Regions from separate parts of the Homo sapiens genome. Here all the other regions are linked to region 3. Evidence: promoter capture Hi-C in 16 types of primary human blood cells and fetal thymus (Javierre and others, 2016). All regions are on one chromosome and are shown on one strand. The core of a region is centred on a gene start or on the middle of the fragment in contact, and the rest is flanking DNA. Distances in the headings are between cores, read along the strand shown. Region 1 has its middle 110 kb from the start of NHLRC3. Region 2 has its middle 230 kb from the start of NHLRC3. Region 3 holds the start of COG6 (component of oligomeric golgi complex 6).

Region 1 (2,700 bases), core at 39-2,538, 500 kb before region 3:
CATGTTGTTGCAGGTATGTATTCTAGCACAACTGTCACAATCAGTAAAATACATCTAATGACTAGGATGTAAAAGGGAAAGGTGGGGGGGAATCTCCTTTTTTTTTTTTTTTTTTTTTGAGACGGAGTTTCACTCTTGTTGCCCAGGCTGGAGTGCAATGGTGGGATCTTAGCTCACTGCAACCTCTGCCTCCCAGGTTGAAGCAATTCTCCTGCCTCAGCCTCCTGTGTAGCTGGGATCACAGGCGCCTGCCACCATGCCTGGCTAACTTTTTGTATTTTTAGTAGAGATGGGGTTTTACCATGTTGGTCAGGCTGATCTCGAACTCCTGACCTCAGGTGATCCGCCTGCCTCGGCCTCCCAAAGTGCTGGGATTACAGTCGTGAGCCACCGCGCCCGATGGGATATCCTTTTTAAGTGCACAAACTGGAAGTCACACATATCACTTCTAAGCACATTGCACTGACCAGAACTTAGTCACATCTCCACTGCAAGGGAGCCTGTGAGTCATAGGCTTTGGCTGGGCAGCCACATACCCAAGAGCTCTTTGTTATATTGTGTTGCCTATTAAAAAGTAAAATTTTTAAAGGAAAAAATATGTCTATAAGCAACTTGGGTTTTAGAATCTCCATCCTGGCTTTTGAGAGTTTGGGATCTTTTATCTCTCCAGCTTAGTCAGACTCTCTAGTTCGTGTAATAGGACACTCCTATTCTGATCTGGTTCCCTGAAAGCTGCATGTGATGTGTCTTAATATTATATTGCACCACCTGCTATCTGCTTGGCTTATGATCATGCTTTGATCTATACTTGGATTTACTCTACTTGGAGAAAGGTATACTCTTTATAGGACTGGCATGGTAGAAATTGTGATGATTTCTACAGGCTCTGCCTGTAGCCAATGAGGAAGCAGAAGATGAATCCAAATGGAACCTTATTTAGCCAACACACACAGGCACTTGTGTGCCAAATGTGGTTTATAGGATACATTTTGGGAAAATTTACTGAGTTCCCCATTCATGAAACCATCATTAAATATTATATCATAGTTAGGTCTTCTATGCTTTCTTTCATCTTTGAGAAGGATATACTAGAAATTATCAATTTCTCTTTAAAGTCTTACATACCTATACTACAGTTCACCTGCATTTAAGCTTAGACTGGACATATTAGGGAGATGAGAAGAGCAAGAGAAACTGAAGAGCTTGGCTACTTAGTTGGTGACCTTGTTATTTTCCAAGAATGATTTAGTTGCACAAAATCTATGGTGTACTTCTAACAAAAGTCTACAAGATCTTACATTATAAATCTTGTATACTAGTTGTACTAGACACTAACCATTCTTTTTGGTGGACAACATCTGAGCCTGATTATAGTTTAGGAATTCTTTACCTGTTTTCTGATTAGAGATAGTGAGCCAGAGGTAGCAAGCTTTAAAGACATATTTGTAAGACGTTTGCATATCAAACCTGTAGGAAACAAACCTGAAAAAAACATTCAGGGGCTTGCCATCTTAGTGAAAGGTGTACATCTAAATACTCCTTCTAATGTAAAGGATAATTTGTTGCATCTGAATCTCAAAGATATCAGGCCCTGTGAATGCTACCTTTTGGGGCATATTTTTGCAAACATAACTAAATTAAGGATCTTAAGATGAGGTGGTTAGCCTGAATTATTAAGGTGAGTTCTATCTGCCATCACATGCTATTACAGAAAGGCAGAGGGAGATTTGACAAATACACATGGAAAGTGCAATATAAAGATGGAGGTGGAGACTGGAGTGATGTGGCTACAAGCTAAGGAATGCCTGCAGCCACCCGGGCTAGAAGAGGCAAGAAACTAGAAAGTGGGGAGTGTGGCCCTGCCGACACCGTGACTTGGTCTTTTGGGCTCCAGAACTATGCGAGAATAAATTTCTGTTGCTTTAAGCCACCAAGTTTGTGGTAATTTTTTACAGCAACCACAGGAAACAAATGGAGATTTTACTGTAGTGGTCATTGAAATATCAGATACCAGTAGCTCACTTTCCCAGTCTCCCTTGCAGTGAGGGCATAAGCACGTGCTGGTCAGATGCACCCTGGAATTTGAGTCAGGTATTTCTCATACAAAACTCTGGGGCTGTAGAAAATCCTCTCTATAGCAGCAATGTTGATTACAATAAGGTAGATCTTCTGGAACAGCAGTGCCAGATCAGTGCTGCAGGAGAACTTCTGGCTGCACAGCCTTCATCTAAGCCTGGTTCACATGACCACCCAGTAATTCTGTAGGCTACTAATGTCCTTTCGATATGTCACTTCTCTGTTTATACTGAATTAACTTAGTTTCTATTATTTAACTAAAACCCAACTAATACATTAATGGCCTCGCCATTACTGTGGTTAATTTCCGAAAACTTTGCCTGTTTCCCCTACCTCTCACTTTCTCGAAATATAGATGTAGGCATAGATGTAAATATATAGGCATAGATATAGGTATACACACACATACAAATTTGATTCTCCCTCCTTTGAAAAGGAGATCTGAAAGGCATACCAAATATGTTTTTGTGAGTAAATGCATTCAAGTCTCCCTGCATCCCCCTTCACACCCATCTTTGCCTTCCTCTCTGTTTTTATTTTTACTTTTTCTGGGAAGCCTTCATGCACTTCATGCTGCCTTCGCATCCTACTGGTAGCATATTGCAGTACTTATCACACAGTATC
Region 2 (3,016 bases), core at 144-2,643, 390 kb before region 3:
GAGAGAGCACAATGTGACCACAAAGGCAGAGACTGGAGTGCTTCATCTACAAGCCAAGGAACACCAAGGAGCGCCAGCAACTGCCAGAGCTTGAAGAGAGGCATGGAACAGACTCTCCCTCAGTGCCTCCAGGAGGAAGCAATCAAGTCGGTATCTTGACTTCAGACCTCTAGCCTCTAGAACTATGAGACAATAAATTTGTGTTGTTTCAAGCCACCTAGTTTGTGGTACTTTGCTATGACACCTCTAGGAAACTAATATACCTCATGTCTATTGTCCTTAATTCTAGCTGTTCTACCTTTGAACTATTCAGCTTAATTCAGACAGAAAAATCTTTCCTAAAAGTTATTCACATGATGTCCCTTCTTTGTTCAAAATGACAAATGATACACCATTTCCTCCAATTATTACTAAATGCTTGTTTGCCTTATTTTCAAGATCTCGAACAGTTATATATTTTTCCATGCTTTCCTCTTTTGAACCAAGCTAACTTTTTACTGTCCCCAAACACTCCACATTCTCTTCTGCTTTCACGGTTTGCTCCCTTCATGCAGTCTCTCTACCATCCTTCTGTTGAAATCACATGCTTTCTTTAAGGTCAACATTAAAATTAAAATCAATCTTTTCATTTATCATGCCAACACTTCTTATCTCTTTGCTTTGAATTCAAAGAAACGCTATCATCTATACCACAAAATTTGGCTTGTTATTAAATATTGTAATTACAAGGGTTTTATCTGTGTTTGTCTTGATGACTACTCTTTAAGGTGAACACCATTTTATACTTCTGAGCATCTTTCATTCCTAGCACAGTAATAAGATATGCAAGAAAGAGTTTCTAATTAATGTGTGCCCACCACATGCATACTAAATATTGTTCCCACCCCCACATACATAATAAATATTGCATTTAATCATACATGCATAAGTCCTGGCTAAAGACAACTCTGTTATGACCTACTTCATTAGTAATGCCTTTGTCCTAAATTTTTTGCTACTTTAGAAAAACTCAGAGGAAAAGAAGCTTCATTTAGTCAAAATTCAAAACAAGATCTCAGGTGTGGGGATGATCCAGCAGGTCATTTTGAAAGTGCTCTGGTTTGAGGTAACATAGTGTTTCTTTCACAAACATAATAATCCATTATAGTCAGAGAGCACGATATGGAAACAGAATTTCTCTTCTGTCATTCATGGGAGTCGAGAGCTACCTTGTAGGAGATGTGAACTATCTGCTCCTATGTCTGTCCCTAGTTTATGCCTTTGACAATAGTTATTCAGTATCTGGAAAAGTGATTATCTAGATTTTGCCTCTCCCCATTGACAGTCTAATCACTGGCAGTTTCAAATGAAACTCAGCACCTGTGCTCACGTTAACCACTACTGCAGCCTCCTTCCTGATGGATCTGTAGTGTTCTCTCCTTTGCTCACTCAGCTCTGACCACAGGGCCAACCTGCTGCTCCTCAAACTTGCCCACGAGCACATGCAGTTCTCTGACTGCAATGTTCGTTCTCCACATATCCTTAGTCTCCTTACTTCATTCAAGTCTCTCCTTCAATGTCACCCCCTCTGTGTTAAAATACAGTGTATTAATAGAAATGTGGAGGTATTGTAAGGGCAATAGACCAGGAGGTAAATTCCACTGAAAGGACAGTTTGTTACTCACAGTTGCCAAGAACAGGGGCATGACCCACCATGGTGGACCCAGCGGGGAAACACTAGGGCCAATCAGGAGGCAGAAGGTTGTGGGGACAGCTGTGGGTAAAAGCTTCTATTACAGTGTCCAGGGGAAGGGAAGCAAGTTTAGGATGGACTAGTTTGAATAATTTCAGTGGGGTTGTCCCTAGTTATCTGGTGTCTGGCCCTGAGGTGATGAGAGCAGATGGATAGTGGACTAGAATATGACAAACGATAAAGGAGGGGGTTAGGGTCTGGGATCTGGATTCCTTGGTTTGGATTTGGAAAGCACATCCATGAGTTGTTTACTATCTCTAAGACTTGGCTATCCCTGAGAGAGGCAGTCCCTCCAGGATCAGCCAGGCCCCAGGGATGAAAGCATCAGAATACAGAAAATAAAGGATGCAGTTAAGGCAACCCTCAAAGAGGCATTCCCTTATACCTTAAGGAAGCATCTCACTCCCCACCACCAGTCTCCATCCTCTGCTCTTTTATTCGACTTTATGGCACTTCATGGAATGTATCTGATAAATATTTTTCACGTCTTTCTTCAGTAGAATAACTTCATCAGAACTTACATTTCAATGCAAGTCAAAACCACACCAGTAAGAATGGCTATTATTAAAAAGTCAAAAAACAACAGATGGTGGTGAGTTTATTGAGAAAAGGGAATGCTTGTACACTGTTGGTGGGAGTGGAAATTAGTTTGGTCATTGTGGAAAGCAGTTTAGAGATTTCTCACAGAACTAAAAACAGAACTACTTATTCAACTCAGCAATCCCATTACTGGGCATACACCCAAATAAAATAAATCATTCTACAAAAAGACACATGCACTCATATGTTCATCACAGCACTATTCACAATAGCAAAGACATGGAATCAATCTAAGTGCCTATCAATGACAGACTGAATAAAGGAAATGTAAGTACATATACACCATGGAATACTATACAGTCATAATGAAGAGCAAAGTCATATCCTTTGCAGCAACATGGATGCAGCTGGAGGTGGTCATCCTAAGTGAATTAATGCAGGAACAGAAAACCAAACACCACGTGTTCTCACTTGTAAGTAGGAGCTAAACATTGGGTACTCATGGACATAAAGATGGGAACAGTAGATACTGGGTACTACTAGAGTGGGGAGAGGGACAGGGAACAAGAGCTGAAAAACTCTACCTATTGGGTACTATGTTCACTACTTGGGTGATAAGATCATTTGTACCTCAAACCTCAGTATCACACAATATACCCATGTAATAACCTTGTACATGTACCCCCTGAATCTAAAATAAAAGCTGAAATTATTTTAAAAACCCTTTTATTTCAAAAGGTTATT
Region 3 (3,036 bases), core at 435-2,934:
CTTTAACTCCTGAACTCGAGATCCCCCTGCCTAAGCCTCCCAAAGTGCTGGGAATACAGGTGTGAGCCACCATACCTGGCCTAAAAAACAGATTTGAGATGAAACTTGCATGCCATTCAATTCATTCATTTAAAGTGTACAGTTCAGTGTTTTTTAGTATATTTACAGAGTTGTGCAACCATCACCACAATTTAGCTTTAGAGTATTTTCATCTCCCCAAAAATTAACCTGTACCATGAACTGACACTCCCCATTCCCTCTTCCCAACACTCCTCTTCCCAGAACCACTCATCTACTTTCTATCTCTATTGATTTACCTATTTGGGAGATTTCACATAAAGAGGTCATACAATATGTGGTATTTCATGACCGCTCCTGACTTGGCATGTTATCATCGTCATTCCTTTTAATTGTACATATTTGCAAGCTCTACATTATATTATTGCTTTGTATATATGCAAATTCATTTGGATATATACACCTTAGGTAAACCTTTGATATTTTAATTTTGGTTACACTGAACTTAAATTTATCTGTGAAAGAGAAAAGACATCTTACAATATTGAGTCTTCCTGTTGAAGAGAACAATATATTTTTTCATTGATTTAAGTTTTATGTTCTCCCAGTAGCATTTTAAAGTTTTCTTCATCTAGGTTCTCTGTATTTTTTGTTGAATTCATACCTAGATATTGCTGCTTTTTGTATATTTTTTTCTTTTGGATAGTTGGGCCTTCTCTTCTTCATTAGAGTAGAGATGAGTGGTTTTGTCAGTGCTTTCTTTATGTGACCTCTGTAATAGGTAATTTTCCCTTAAGTCTGATATACAATATAACTATGTACATAGACATATATGAAACAAGGAAAATTTATGACAAGAGCCAAATAGTGTTTCTGACAAATAATTCACAGAAGCCCAGCGATTTTATTTTGATCCAAATTTTAAAAACTGAGAAAAGAAAGAAAAAAAGCAATGATGTTTGTTTTCCAGAGTTTCCCGGGAAGTTTTTTCAACTTGTTACATTTTTATCCATTACTTTACAGCTACATGGGCTCTGGTCCATTTGTGTCAGGGCCAAGTTCATCTTGTTTTGAGGCCTGTACACTTACACACTTTCTTCTGCCTGGGAATGATTTCTCCTCACATTCTGATTCTCCTTCAAATCTCAGTTTAAGTGTCAACTCCTCTCCAAACCTCCCTGAGTGAAGTGGGCCTTTCCCTCCATTTTCTTTCACTGTACTACTTCATCCCCTGAGCACTCATCACAACCTAATAACATCTATTAACAGCTTTGTCTGTTTCAGACACACAATGTAGATTCTCCAATGCCTACCAGAGTACCTGGCACATACTATGCCTTCAATAAATAATTTTCAAAAAAATGAATTCAGATAAGGCAAATGTAATTTAAACTTTCAGTTAACTTATATTGAATGTATATGCCAGGCACAAGTCATGGTGTATTTTACATACTACATTTGGTTGTCATCTAATTAGCTCTGAAGGTCGCAGATCCATAATTCCAAAGTCCTCTCTAATCCTATAAATTTTCTCCTTCTACCTGAGGGTCTTGTCCCGCCCCCCACATCTTCTCCGCCCCTCACGCTTCTGAGAGCCCAAGCAGGGTTACCCGGCGAAGACTTCCGGGGCCGATGCGCATGCGCGGCCGATTTGCACATGCGCAATACTCGCGCTGCCTCCGTGGTCCCTGCCTGGCTGAGGTGGCAGCAGGGGGCGGGACGCGCAGCGCTATGGCAGAGGGCAGCGGGGAAGTGGTCGCAGTGTCTGCGACCGGGGCTGCCAACGGCCTCAACAATGGGGCAGGCGGGACCTCGGCGACGACCTGCAACCCGCTGTCGCGCAAGCTGCATAAGATCCTGGAGACGCGGCTGGACAACGACAAGGTAACCGGGGCTGGCGGGGCCGGAGTCACAGGTTCCTGCGGGGCTGAGCCGGGCCAGGGGCGGCGTCTGTCAGGGACCCACCGCGGTCTCCCTCGTCCCGGCAGCAGAGGGACCGCGAGTGACCCCAGACCTGCGGGCTCCGCTGCTCTGCGGGCGCCGGGGGCGGTGAGAAGGGGGAGCCCCAGCAACCTCCGGAAAAGCGAAGGGGTTTCCTGGGTGTTCTCTCCACCTGAAAAGGTGCCTTCAAGGCTCTCTGGATGGGATTGGTGAACGGTGGTGCCTCGAGAAGTGTCCTCCAAACACCCCTGGAGGCGTTTGGCTGTGTGAGCTGGGAGAGTGGAGGAGAGCACAAGACTGGATATGAAACAGATGCAAAAGAGCAGATTCCAAGATAAGGTAGCGCAAATGGGGGTCGGGAGACCAAGAGAGCAGTGGTAGGGATAAGGGTGCATTTCCACGGACAAGTGACAACAATTGCAATAATTTGCAGCGCGAAAGAACTACCTTTGCCCGTGGCTGAAATGAACTCATATCTACTAGTTTTTGTTGAGCCAAGCGCTATGATTTGTGGGCTCAGGCTGTATTTCTTTAGAAGATAAACTGACAGCATGCTCTCACAAGTACCTCCTGAAACTTAAGTTGGACTTTACAGCTCCTCACATACCCAGCCATCTCTTCTGTCTCTGTGGGTCGCTAGGTAAATTGGTCATGACAGTGTAACATAAAGAAGAACATATGTCAAAGTTAGAGAGTTTTATAGGTGAATATGTAGGTAACTGAAAATAAGCTGTCGATAACAATTTGATTCCGATATGTAAAAAAATAACATTGCAATGTAATGAATAAGAAATTAGGGCTCTGGAGACTACCACTTATTAGATAGAACCACTAAATGTGTGCATCATGATTTGAGTAAGTCCCTTCACTAATCTCAGCTTCTGTTTAGGAATTAGGAATCCTGCTGTTAAGTTTCTCATGGTTGTTATTTGAGGACTCAGTGAGAGACTCCAGGTAAAGTCCTTTGCAAAGAGCCTGGCACTTACTCTTTCTTAACAAATATTAATTTTATCATAAAATTTATGAAGTGTTTAATGTGTCTCATATTGATATTTATTATATCATTTAAGACTGCTA

Evidence for each region. The method cuts DNA at HindIII sites, captures the fragments that hold promoters and counts their contacts. A CHiCAGO score of 5 or more calls a contact.
Region 1: a fragment that was not itself captured here is called in contact with the fragment with the promoter of COG6 in region 3 in 1 of 17 cell types (endothelial precursors); the score reaches 5.3 in endothelial precursors.
Region 2: a contact is called between a fragment that was not itself captured here and the fragment with the promoter of COG6 in region 3, in 1 of 17 cell types (M2 macrophages). The highest score is 5.7, in M2 macrophages.

Annotation. Positions count from the first base shown.
Region 1 is chr13:39,151,196-39,153,895 of GRCh38, forward strand. No RefSeq gene overlaps it. Among named protein-coding and RNA genes, the nearest start is that of NHLRC3, 110 kb to the left of the region's middle. The HindIII fragment of the contact is 277 bases long and covers 1,151-1,427 here.
Region 2 is chr13:39,267,195-39,270,210 of GRCh38, forward strand. No RefSeq gene overlaps it. Among named protein-coding and RNA genes, the nearest start is that of NHLRC3, 230 kb to the left of the region's middle. The HindIII fragment of the contact is 742 bases long and covers 1,023-1,764 here.
Region 3 is chr13:39,653,978-39,657,013 of GRCh38, forward strand. COG6 (component of oligomeric golgi complex 6) reads left to right here and starts at 1,685. Exons shown (of 19, transcript NM_020751.3): 1 at 1,685-1,902. The coding sequence starts at 1,750. RefSeq lists a silencer at 1,949-1,998. The HindIII fragment of the contact is 8,496 bases long and covers 1-3,036 here.